4 separate regions of the Homo sapiens genome follow, and all the other regions are linked to region 1. The links are contacts of gene promoters, found by promoter capture Hi-C in human tissues and cell types (Jung and others, 2019). All regions are on one chromosome and are shown on one strand. Each heading gives the region's core, a stretch centred on a gene start or on the middle of the fragment in contact. The rest is flanking DNA. Distances are from core to core; before and after follow the strand shown.

Evidence for each region. The method cuts DNA at HindIII sites, captures the fragments that hold promoters and counts their contacts. A contact is called where the count stands out against the background at its distance.
Region 2: a fragment that was not itself captured here is called in contact with the fragment with the promoter of S1PR3 in region 1 in 4 of the 25 tissues and cell types used here (heart left ventricle, heart right ventricle, mesenchymal stem cells and 1 more).
Region 3: a contact is called between the fragment with the promoter of SHC3 here and the fragment with the promoter of S1PR3 in region 1, in 1 of the 25 tissues and cell types used here (IMR-90 fibroblasts).
Region 4: a fragment that was not itself captured here is called in contact with the fragment with the promoter of S1PR3 in region 1 in 6 of the 25 tissues and cell types used here (IMR-90 fibroblasts, bladder, heart left ventricle and 3 more).

Annotation. Positions count from the first base shown.
Region 1 is chr9:88,989,509-88,992,726 of GRCh38, reverse strand. It overlaps S1PR3 (sphingosine-1-phosphate receptor 3), which reads right to left and starts at 1,259. Exons shown (of 2, transcript NM_005226.4): 1 at 1,032-1,259. RefSeq lists a silencer at 1,419-1,713. The HindIII fragment of the contact is 13,055 bases long and covers 1-3,218 here.
Region 2 is chr9:89,137,975-89,141,069 of GRCh38, reverse strand. The region is part of intron 1 of SHC3 (SHC adaptor protein 3); the gene reads left to right. Among named protein-coding and RNA genes, the nearest start is that of SHC3, 39 kb to the left of the region's middle. The HindIII fragment of the contact is 4,407 bases long and covers 1-3,095 here.
Region 3 is chr9:89,177,083-89,180,270 of GRCh38, reverse strand. SHC3 (SHC adaptor protein 3) reads left to right here and starts at 1,453. Exons shown (of 12, transcript NM_016848.6): 1 at 1,453-2,284. The coding sequence starts at 1,811. The HindIII fragment of the contact is 9,677 bases long and covers 1-3,188 here.
Region 4 is chr9:88,759,406-88,762,621 of GRCh38, reverse strand. No RefSeq gene overlaps it. Among named protein-coding and RNA genes, the nearest start is that of MIR4289, 15 kb to the right of the region's middle. The HindIII fragment of the contact is 3,626 bases long and covers 1-3,216 here.

The DNA of each region.
Region 1 (3,218 bases), core at 10-2,509:
GCTATCCTTGTTAGTCATGTATCTGCAGAGCATAATCCTTCCCTTGTACTTTCTAGGAATTATATTTTTCTTAACTATGCCTGCAAGATTTTCATCTATGAATAAAAAACATTGAAAAGATAAATTATGAATATGTGGTTATATACAAAGTCTGTGACTTCTAATGTCCAGATTTTAGAATGATGCCTAATTCTGGAGGTCTCAGAGGTCCAAGTGGGAGTGGGTACCATGAATGGGGGGGCCTCCATTTAAAAGTAACCTTCTAAAGAGCTCTCTGTTCCTGTAGCTCCCCTTTCCTTATTGGAAGGGTCAAAACGAAGTGTGTTCCCTTAAAAATCCAACAAGAAGTTCCTCTCTTATATCCAAATATAAAAACACCACAAAGAAATATACCATTGGGAGTGTCCAAAGCCAGAAAGTCAGAGGAAGAGAGAGAGAGAGAGAGAGAGAGAGACTGACTATTGGGAGACTCAAAAAGCCCAAAGCCCCTTCTCTAGCTGTTATCTCAGTTACGAACACAACGTACTGATTTTCCGTGGGAACCTCATTATTGCACTGTGGGGACTTCGTCTTCCAGCACCGATTCTGACGGCCCTAATTGCCTTGTTTGAGAAATGTTAGGAAAAAACTAATTTTCCGGCGAATATTGTTTAAAAGAATGATTTTCCCAGGCTAACGACCACAACCCTCTCCCACGTCCAGCATCCCCAGGCCCTGGCACTGTGGAAGCCTAACTTGTTAATTGTCCAAGGAAAACGACTGATGGAACTTCTCCACGAACAGCCTCTCCACTTTCATCCAGGTATTCAGCTCCAGCCCGTTGTAAACGCTCCGGGTGCGGTGGAAAAGGCCTCCTCCCTGTTCCTGCAGCGGCTCTGGGGGAGGGGTGCTGATGTGGAGCGCTCCGGCCGCCGTGGCGCGCCCAAGTCCCCGTCGCGCCCGGGATCGGTGGGGATTTTGTTGGAAAGGTGGGTCCTTCGGCCCCCAGCCCCCCACCCTGGTTCCGCGCCCCGCCCGGGCCCGCCTCTCACCTCCGTCGGCTGAGGGCGCTGGGGCCACCGGCATCCTAGCGGGTGGCGCGCGGCGGTGCCGGGGCGCCCGGTCCTGCGCTCGAATGCCAGATGGGCTGGGAGGCCCGGCAGTCTCAGCGCTCGCGACGTCGTTCCCGGGCCTGGGGTCCTGCTCGGTCGCGTCCTGCAGCCGCCTTCTGGTCCCTGAGTCCCTGTTGCCCGTCCCCGGAACCGGCTTCCTCGGCCTCTGCCCGAGCGAGTCAGAGACTAAACTTTTCCAGCGGCCCGCCGGGGCGGGACCCGCGCTCCGCCCCTCCCCTCGCCGCCCCCGACTCCCGCCCCTCTCCCCGCCCCCCTCTCCCCGTCCCCCGCCCGCGAACCCGGCACTCCTCCAGCTCCCCACCTCCCGCTCAAGCCGCCTGGTCTCCGTGCGCCCCGCCCGCCCCTAGCCTGGACCCCTTCTCCCCGACCCTACCAATCCCCTAGGGTCCGGCTCGCCCTTCGGCCCCTGTTCCCAGGCCGGCCTCCAGACCTTGTCCTCATCGGGCGAGCTCCAGGTGCAGAAACCGGGCGCCCAGAGACCCAGCGGGAACAGGCTTGGAACCAGGTCCGAGGTCTGGGCTTGGGCGGGCGCCTGTCGCCCTGACAGCGAGGGTTTGTTTGGGCCGATTCTTAATAGGAGGATTAATACTATCATTATCGTTGTCCAGATCCTGACCATTTCTTTTGTAACTGGCCGAGCACCGGCTTGGGCTTGCAGGTGGGCGCCTGGCGCCGGACAGCGTTTTTGTTTGGGCTTCTTCCTTTTCCGCGCGGGTCCCCTCCGGCGCCTGCCTGGTCCCTCTCCGCGCTCTACCCCCAGGCACGCAGAGACTTGGGCTCCAGGCGGGGGCAGCACTCTCCCCCAGCCTCTGCTGGTGCACCAGAGCCCACTCCGGCACAGAGCAGCGCCCCTCCTAGACCGGCAGCCAGCAGATCTCAGCCGACCCCCATGCGACCCCCTTCCTCACGCGGATTTGCCCCTTTTGTGTGGCAAAAATAATAATAATAATAATAAATCCATATGAAGGCTTCAAACAGAATTCCGAGAGAAGGAACTGCCAAATTTTCAATCAATGCCAAAGGCCATGATTGAGCGAACACAGAAACAACTGTAGAAGCTTGGGGAGAAAGGAGAAAATTAAAGAAAAAGGAGGAGGAGGAAAAGGAGAGAGGAGAGAAGCGGGAGGAAGAAGACGAAAAAGCAAGGAGAGGCCTGTTATCCGACCGTGCATTCCTGGGCCGGCAGGATTGGGCCGCAGGGGCCGCTGCAGAGAGTTGAGTTTGTGCAAAGGCCGCTCGTTACTTTCTGTCTTTTGCCCTCTTGCCTCCAGAGGATCAGCCCAGCGCATCCTTCTCTTGGAGCAGGGTGCATACGCTTATTTGGGGTGCAGTTTGAGCGGTGAAGGGCACCAAGAGTGGAAGTCGGCGGCACTCCTGTTCCCTGCAGAGAAACGCAAGCCCTCAGCAATTGAGCTGAAGGAGGCAAGTGACTCTGCCTGCTGAGGCTGCCAGCCCTAGAGGCTCTGGCCCCCGGGAGCTGGGGTACTTCCCAGCGTTTTCGCCTAAGCCACTTCGCCTGTGCTACTGTGGAGTCTTCCGGCACTGTAGCCTTCCAACTTGTTCAAAGTGCCTGGTGCACGGCTCTGAGAAGCCACTTCTGTCCCAAGTTTCATGTGGGCCTGAATGTGCTTCCCTTTGTTGGACTCCTACAGCATCAAGTCAAGAAAAGAAGGAAACATGCTCCTTTGGCATTGGTCACAACCAGGATAACAATACAGCATACTGTGGCCACTGTGTCTATATTACCAAAGTGGTCAGTAGGTTCATCACACCTCTGTTCAATTAGTTGCTTCCCGTGATGAAAAATTTACTGCTAGGATACTGGCTGAGGGTTGTTTTAAGGGGCACCCAAGTCTCCGTTCCTAGAGAAAGTCAGTTACCCTGATATAACAGAGCAACCTTGAGGCGTGGTGATGCCTCCAAAACTAGTCTGCGGAATCGGAGCCCAGAAGCCCTGAGGAGTAATGTGGCTCTCATGCTTTATGGCAGGTTTCCCTAAGAGAGACCCAGGATCTGACCCATGGCATCACTGAAATTCCTCTTTCAGTGAGGCTCCGTTTGCCTAAAGATCCCTGTCCTCAGTGGGTCTCCCCACACACGGGCCTC
Region 2 (3,095 bases), core at 148-2,647, 150 kb before region 1:
TTCACTGAGCCAGAAATATTGGCTGTTTGGCCTGGCTAAAGTCTGGTAATAAGAAATTTACCATGACTTTTTAAAAGAGCGCTATGGTTAAAAATCAGCTTAATTAATTTAAAATATGGATATCTAAACTATATATATTTAAAAGGGCTTTATCTTTTTCCCCTTCTTGAATCTTGTTCTTTCTGAAAAAAGTTTTTCTCCTCAGTCGACTGAACTGTTTTTCTTCATTTTGTCTTTTTGCCACTGTTAATGCCGACATAAGAGAACCTGAGATAATTACTAACAGCCTAGAACTCCTGGAGAAAAACAGAGGAAGTGCCACGGACCCTGTTTTGGGAAAATTCTCTTTTTTTTCCTCATGAAACCCCAGGAATTAAAAGCAGTTAGTTTCCTCTCAAAATCTAAGGCTTTGTTCTGTTTTGCATTGCCGTATCTGATGTTTTTGACTTTTGCAGGTATCAGAAATTGTTTTGCATTATGAGAGAATTTGGTGTGTAATAACTAGGTAGGAAATATACTTTTGGAGATGGCTAATGGCAGTTATTGGGAAATACTCAGCTGTGCATGCTTGGATAAGAAACACATGCTCTTGGCCACCTAGGAAGTATGGAGATGCGCCCCCCCACCCACCACCACCGCCACTGAGAGATAAGACTTCCATGGGGAGGGGCTGATTCCTTCTTTTTGGGATCCAAGATCTGGTATAAAAGCAGGACCCTTAATCTGGGGGGGGGAATCTGTTTGCCTTCCAGCTGTCCCTGCTTATTAGCCCTAGAAAATGCATGCTTTCCTGGCTCTGGGCTCCACCCTGAAGCCAGTAATCCAATTAAGAAACTGGTAAATGAAAAATCTTACAACTACTGGGTCTTCTTCTGTCATGTATTTATGTGTGTTGTGTGTTTGTGATATAAAAAAGAAGCTTTCATTGGTTTAAAAACAATGACTGCTTAAATCAAGCATTTTGTCAGAAAAGTAAAAAGTCTAATGGCTTTTAGTTCATGTGACTTTAGTACTCTTCAAGAAATGACAGTTTTAAAAATTATTGGTAAAATTAAAATGTCTTCAAAATTTAAACATTTGGTCTAAATTACTCAGGTCAGATATTAGGCTTGCTAAATGCTTTAAGGTAATAAACTGTTTCTTTAAGTTTTGAAAATTGTTCAATTTACCTACTTTAGAGCATTAGATTCTAAATAAGGCCTAGGGACATATGGAGAGCCATGCTCCCTAGCTAGGCTCAAGAGTCAGCCTTTATCAGCCCTTTTGCAATAGGACAGAATTGGAGAAACTGGTAATTTTACCAACGCTTTGACTGTAATGGTGTTCTTTCCTTTAAGGAATCAAACTTGATTTGTAAAGCTAATAAAAGCCCCTTGAAGAAACTGGCCTCATGCCTAGTCTACAGCAGTCTCTGTACAGAATTCCTGACCTGTGTGATAAGTAAAGAATGGCACTTATCTTAGGCCCAGGAGCCCCAAGTTATCTTGGGATTTCAAAAGGAAAGGAATTGACACAACTCATAGGTATTTGAGGGTACAAACCTATGGCAGGGCTCAGCTTTATAAAAGTCTTATCTGAGATTCCTTCTATGGAACAGAGTTTCACAAAAGCCAATTTAAAAACAGCTTATGTGAAAAATAATTATTCTTACTGCACTTTATACAAATAATCAGGCCAAGTGTAATAAAGCAAAACAGTCTTACCATGATTTGTCCTTAGTAACAATGGTAAACTGGATAGAGAAAGATTATGTTTCAAGAACTATGGTACACTTGTTATTAGATTCTAGTCTCATTGGTTGTTTTTGAGTTTTTTCTTCAACTTAGGCTGATCTGGCTCATTCCTGTGAACCAACCAGCAATCTCTGACTGCTGCTCAGAAGAAATAAGAGGGATGGGTAATGTAAAAAACATCTGGATAAAATCAATATTCTAATTCTGGGTGCATTAGAATCAGCTAACAATCCCATATCAGCCTGGTTCCAACAGTTTCCCAATTCATGGAAAGACTTCTAGTTTAGTTTACTTGAAATAATTGTACTTATTTTGCTTTACTGCTGTGGAATGTATTACTGTTGTACTCTTCGTGTAGGAATGCAGGATAAGCTTACTCAATGTTTTCTTAAATTGAATACTTATTAATCTTCCAGATACCACCTTTTCTCAGAACTCAAGAGTCATGAATCACCCTTACTATACTGATGCCTCCTGACAGAGCTCCTTTCTATGCCTAATATAAGAGACCCTAATAGGCAGGAATATCATCACCTCTAATCATCCTGAAGAAGTTACAGAAGATGGATCTTTATCCCTCCGCAACCCTTAGGATTAAGGGTTCTCTTAGAAAAGGGAGAGGGGAAATGTCAGAGACATTTGAACCAGAGCAACTCCATCTTGAATAGGGGCTGGATAAAATGAGGCTGAAACCTGCTAGGCTGGATTCCCAGACGGTTAGGCATTCTAAGTCACAGGATGAGACAGGAGTTTGGCACAAGACACAGGTCATAAAGACCTTGCTGATAAAACAGATTGCAGTCAAGAAGCTGGTTAAATCCCACCAAAACCAAGATGGCAATGAGAGTGACCTCTGGTTGTCCTCACTATTACACTCCCACCAGCTCCATGACAGTTCACGAATGCCATGGCAATGTCAGGAAGTTACCCTATATGGTCTTAAAAGGGGAGGCATGAATAAACCACCCCTTATTTAGCATATAATTGAGAAATAGCTATAAAAATGGGCAACCAGCAGCCCTTGGGCCTGGTCTGCCTATGGAGTAGCCATTCTCTTATTCCTTTACTTTCTTAATAAATTTGCTTTCACGTAGTTCTATGGACTTGCCTCAAATTCTTTCTTGTGCAGATTCAAGAACCCTCTCTTAGGGTCTGGATTGGGAGCTCTCTCCACCAGTAGGACAGATCTGCTGTCACCCTTGCCCTCAGATGCATGTTCTTTGTCCCCCAAGTCTCTGTAGCTGGCAGCTCACGGCTTCCCAGGGCAAGGCGAGAAGCATCAGAGTCTACAAAGGGTGACATCTATGACTAATCTTTCCCAACTCTGGTTTGGCTTCCTGCCCTTTCAGTGCGTTTGCAGCC
Region 3 (3,188 bases), core at 204-2,703, 190 kb before region 1:
CAGATCTGGGGAGGACTCTGATAACCATCAAAATCATCTATGGGGTGTGCAATTGCTGTTGCTATGCAAGCTAGGGAAAGGGAACAAATGAGTGCCGTGTAGCTGTTCTGCTAGGGCTGCGGCACAGGAGGCGAGCCGTGGGGACGCGTTTCCTGTACCGGGGACGCCGCGGCTCCTCTGCGCTCTTGCGTCCTAGGGGTTGGCCTCACCCGCTCGCCCGCCATGAGTGGCGCTCATTAAACTCTGCTCCATAGAGCAGGGTTCAAGACTCAGGACCTCACGTGCCCCACATGTTCGGTCATGGGAGTGAGAGGACTCAGGGTGACCTGAGAGTGTGCTAGAGCTGAATTTATTCGCTTGCTCAGAAGTTGCGGGAAAACTTTGATAGTGAGTGTTTCACTGTGGAGCAGGTGATCCTAATGCATGAGGAAGCCTGGCAGAGCCCACTGAGGTCAAGAGTCAGAGGGCTTCAGTCTCGGGCAGACCTCTGGGGACAGCGAAAGCCTTGCTCTCCTAACTGAGAGGAAGAAGGCCTGTGCATTTTACTTGCAAGCCCGAGCCTGACTCCTGAAAAGAAGGCATATTTTCCTCCTTGTGGATTTGATGTGCAATAAGAACAGCTGCATTTTTTCCTTCCTGACTGCAGGGTTGCAAGCAGCAACTGAAGGAACATTGAAATGTATTTGTAGCATTTCTTAGGCGTTTTTCCAGAGCTTAAACACATTCAGTAGGATTAAAGCTTCAAATGCAGCCCCTTTTTTGGAATGGATTTCTGGAGCCTGTTGCCACTCGTGAAAGAAGCACTCTTCTTTTTTGGAAGTGGATATTCAACTTAACCCTGGCTGAGAAAGACTGCTGTAAATGAGCAGGGAAGACCCCTTGATTGGCACTGTGCAGAAGTTCATATGCAGATTTTTTTTTTTTTTTTTTTTTGAGGAACTGCATTGCCACAAAGACACTTGTCATCGCTGCTCTGTTAATTTGAAAAGAAAAAGCAAAACCCAGGAAATTGGTATTTTACAGTCACCTGGGGGTGAATATCCTTTTTGTTTTTTTCTATTTAAAAATTCCTGCTGCCTTCCAAGTCAAGATTCATCAGGATTCGCTGAAGATCTGATTCTTAAAAAGCCTTCGTCACATTTTAACGCATCGCTGTTAGACACTTTTACAGGCTCACACAGATGGGCTGAGCAGGGACGAGCAAAACCTAACAGAATAATGGGTTTCAGAAAGTTCATTTGACGATTTGAAGGAACTGGATTGGATTTACCTTTGGCACAAATGCAGATTGCGGGGGATGGGAAGGTGAAAAATCAAAGGTTGGAAGGAAATATCTGGGAAGGTAGAAAAAGGAAATTTGAGAATTGATTGGCTATAGTGTGCTGTCAGCGGGTGGATGTCGTTTTTTTCTTCTTTTTTTCCTTTTTTTTCTTCTGCTACAGGAAGTGATTTGCAGTGCTCACCGAGCCTTTGTTGAGAAGGGTCTCCTCTCAGAGTGAGTCATGCTTTTGCTGTGAGCAGCCCCAAGCAGCTGGGCGCTCCATCAGAGGCAACTATGACTTTTGCAAAGCAAACGTGCAACCCCAAGCAGCGGTCTCCCGGGCCGGGGCTGCGCGGCCGCCGCTGTGCTGGCTTTTAACGGTGGGAGGGCACCATCCTCTTGCTCTGCTCTCGTTCTCCAGAAGGCTGTCCCGGGGCCCCCACTCTCCGTCCCGCTCCGGGGACAGTGGCTCGCCTGCTATGCGCGGCAGCCCGCGCCGGGGCCGGCACCAGCAGCGCCCGGGCGGATGCAGCGAGCCCACGGAGGGGCATGCTTCCACGCACCAAGTATAACCGCTTCAGGAATGACTCGGTGACATCGGTCGATGACCTTCTCCACAGCCTGTCGGTGAGCGGCGGCGGAGGCAAGGTTTCGGCGGCGCGCGCGACCCCGGCGGCGGCTCCCTACTTGGTGTCCGGCGAGGCGCTGCGCAAGGCGCCCGACGATGGGCCCGGCAGCCTGGGCCACCTGCTCCACAAGGTGTCCCACCTGAAACTCTCCAGCTCGGGCCTCCGCGGCCTGTCGTCGGCCGCCCGGGAGCGGGCGGGCGCGCGGCTCTCGGGCAGCTGCAGCGCGCCCAGCCTGGCCGCCCCGGACGGCAGTGCGCCCTCGGCGCCCCGCGCCCCGGCCATGAGCGCCGCCAGGAAGGGCCGGCCCGGCGACGAGCCGCTGCCCAGGCCCCCTCGGGGGGCGCCGCACGCCAGCGACCAGGTGCTGGGGCCCGGAGTCACCTACGTGGTCAAGGTGGGTGCGGGCGCGGGCCGCCCTGGGGGCTGGGGGTTCTGGGGCCAGTTCGGGGCAGACTCCTTCATTCCCTGAAGCCCGGGGTGCGGGGCGCTCCCGCGACTGTCACGTTAGAGGCAAGCAAATGCGCACTCCTTAGCAATCAGCTCGCTTGACAGCGGTGAGGAGGGAACTACAAATGCGCTTTTCCCGCATCCATTGGGAAAAGGTTTACCACTCGGGTGGCCCGCTCCGTCCCGGTTTTCCCTAGGCTCCACTTTTTTGGCACGCCTTTGCCACCTGGCTTACCAGATGTCTGACCAGTGTCATGGGCGCCCAACCCTGGGCAGCGGGGGTCCGGCCTGCCTAGTATCTAGGAAACGCGCTGGGGAGAGCTGGGCAGCCCCCGGGAGGAGAGATGCACGGAGTGGCGGCCCTACTCCTGCTGTGTCTTCCCCGGCGGGAGGGTGGGTATCTTGTTGCCCCCCGCAGCAAGAATTCCCAGCTCCTTGCAGAGCAGGCCAAATGCTGTGCTGCTTTCTCTTCGACGGGCTTTACTTTCTCACCCAGTCCAGGTTTTCTTGGGGTTTGTCTTTCATTCCCTAAGGAAAGGTTCTGGTTTACAGCAGCGGAATGAGAATTCTGGGACTATTTTTCTGGTGACTGTAGTCTTCCATTTAAATGTGCTAAAAGGGAACTAGGGCGCTGCGCTTGGAGCCACAGGCTGGAAAGGAGTTTTTTCCTCCAACACAAAGATGATAAAATCACGATGTAGTCAATAAAATTCCACCCTTATGCAAGCATGTTATGATATTTAAGGAAAAATGCTCAGCACAGTTCAAGTAATCTGCCACGCGGTTATTTCCTTCTGCCGGTTGGGCAGCTCAGAGCTTTAACAGCCTCCACAGCCGAGCAGACAGGGGTT
Region 4 (3,216 bases), core at 352-2,851, 230 kb after region 1:
TTCTGTATTTTCATTGCTATTATATAAAAATGAAATTGATTTTTGCATGTTGATCCTGTAACACACAAAGTTACTGAACTCACAATAATTCCAGGACGTTGTCTTTTTATTTATTTATTTTGTAGATTCCTTTATGTTGTCTACATAGATAATCATGTCACTCACAAGTAGGGATGATTTCATTTCTTCCTTTAGAATTGGTATGCCATTTATTTATTTATTTATTTGTTTGTTTGTTTGTTTATTTATCTATTTATTGCCTTCTTTCACCATCTAAAATTTCCAGTACTATACTGAATAAAAGTAGTGAGAATCGACAGTCTTGCCTTGCTCCCAGTCTTAGGGAAAAAGAAGTTAGTCTTTCACTACAAAGTATGATGTTCCCTATAGGTTCTTTGTTAATAGTCTTTATCCAGTTCAGGTAGTTCCACTCCATCCTAATCTTGCTGAGAGAGAGTTTTATCAAAAAATAGATGCTGAATTTTGTCAAATACCTTTTCTGTATCAACTGATATGATCATATGATTTTTCTTTTTTGCCTTGTTGATATGGTAGATTATATTTACTTTAGAACATTGAACCAGCCTTTTGTACCTGGATTAAATCCCATTTGGTCACAGTATATAATTTCTTTTATATATTGTTGGATTTTATTTGCTAATGTTTTGTTGAGGTAAATTCACAAGAGATATTGTTTTGTAGTTTTCTATTTTAGAAATGTCTTTCTCTGGTTTTGGTAATAGAGTAATATTGACCTAATAAAATAAGTGTTCCCTACTCTTCTGTCTTCTGGAAGAAATTGTATTAAAATGTTGTTAATTCACCTTAAAATATTTAGGAGAAGTATCCCATGAAAGCACCTGGACCAGCCTTTTTCAGGAGGTTTTCAATTAAGAATTCATGTAATCATTATAGGACTCCTCAGATTATCTGTTTCATGTTAGCTGAGTTTAGATTTTCAAGGAATTGGTCCATTTCTCCTAAATATTCATATTTATATGAACATCAAGTTGTTCATAGTATTGTCTTATTATCTTTATAATCCTTTTCATGGTTGTAGGATCTTCAGGGTTATTCCTCCATTTCATTCCTGATATTAGTGAAACCTCTTGCTGGAGATTTATCAATTTTATTATTTGTTTTAAAATAGCTTGTGGTCTTATTAGCTTTTTCTATTGTTTTCCTATTTTCAATTTCATTCATTTCTGCTTTGATCTTTATTGTTTCCTTCCTCTGTTTGCTTTTAGTTTATTTTGCTCTTCTTTTCAGTTTCTTGAGGTAGGAACTTAGATTTATAACATGAGACTTACTTTTTTCTAACGTAAGCATTTAGTGATATAAATTTTCCTCCCACACTGTTTTAGCTACATCTCACATATTTTTATTTGCTGTATTTTCACATGAATATGTCATTCCATTCTACCATTTTTTTAATTTTCTTTGAGACTTTCTCTTTAATTTATGGGTTATTTAGAAGCATATTGTTTAATTTCCACATGTTTACAGATTTTCCTTCATTTATTGTCATTAATTTCTAGCTTGATTCCACTATGCTCAGATAATCATACTCTTTAATTCTTTAAAAAATTTTGATGCTCATTAAAAAGTCAGAAAATAACAGATGCCGGCAAGACTGTGGAAAAATAGCAATGCTTTTACACTGGTGATGGGAGTGTAAATTAGTTCAACCATTGTGGAAGACAGTGTGGCAATTCCTCAAGGATCTAGAATCAGAAACACCATTTGACCCAGCAATCCCATTACTGGGTGTATACCCAAAGGATTATAAATCATTCTACTAAAAAGACACGTGCACACATATGTTTATTGCAGCACTATTTACAATAGCAAAGACTTGGAACCAACTCAAATCCCCATCAATGATAGACTGGATAAAGAAAATGTGGCACATACACATCATGGAATACTATGCACCCATAAAAAAAGAGTGAGTTCATGTCCTTTGCAGGGACATGGATGAAGCTGGAAACCATGATTCTCAGCAAGCTAACACAGGAACAGAAAACCAAACACTGCATGTTCTCACTCATAAGTGGGAGTTGAGCAATGAGAACACATGGACACAGGGAGGGAATGTCACACACCAGGGGTTGTCAGGGGGTGGGAGGCAAGAGGAGGGAGAGCATTAGGACAAATACCTAATGCACACGGGGCTTAAAACCGAGATGACGGGTGGATAGGTGCAGCAAACCACTATGACACATGTATACCTATGTAACAAACCTGCACATTCTGCACATGTATCCTAGAACTTAAAGTAAAATTTAAAATAAAAAAAATAAAAATTTTTTTTGATACTTGTTTTTGGTCAGGATACGGTCTGTGAATGGTCATGAGCACTTAAAAATGTGTATTCAGCTACTGTTGGGTGAAGTATAATCTATGTGCCAATTAGATCTTATTGGTTGATTATGCTTTTCAAATCTTCTGTATCTTTGCTGATCTTCTTCTAGTACTTCTGTTAGTTGATCAGAAGGTTGCATTGAAGTCCCCAACCATAATTGTGAGTTTGTCTATTTCTCGTTTCAGCTCTGTCAGTTTTTTGCTTCATGTACTTTAGTCTCTGTTGTTGTTTGTATACACATTAAGAATTGTTATGTCTTTCTGGTAGATTGACCCTTTCATCTTTATGTAATATCCCTCTGTGTCTTTAGGTATTTTCTTTCTTCTGAAATCTATATTATTGGATACTAATGTAGCCATTTCTGTCTTTTTTAAAATTAATGTTCTCATAGTATACCTTTTTCCCTCTTTTTACTTTCACCCTATCTGTGTAATTGAATGTGAAGTAAGTGTCTCATAAAGAGCACACAGTAGGGCCATGGTTTTTTATCCATTCTGCCAATCTGTGTCTTTTCATTGTAATTATTCCAGACGGCATGGTCTGCTGCAGCTCTCCGCAGTAGAATGTTGAATGTCCCCCAACCCCCAAAAAAGGCCGCTGTGGAGCTTTCAGGAAATGCCAAGTCTACCTTGTGCTGATTAGTGCCATTTATAACCCAGCTCAGAAATGCAACTCAACACTCCCCATCTGCTCTGGATTTGGAACTGCAAGTTTGAAATGTCACGGTATCCACCTCTTTGCCCAGCCCCCTCTCCAATCCCTGTATATTGGCCTCGCTTGGGATTTTCTCTAGCACCACCATCTGGGATTTACTTTTTTCTCTTTATTTTCCCAAGGAATAGAACCTGGGA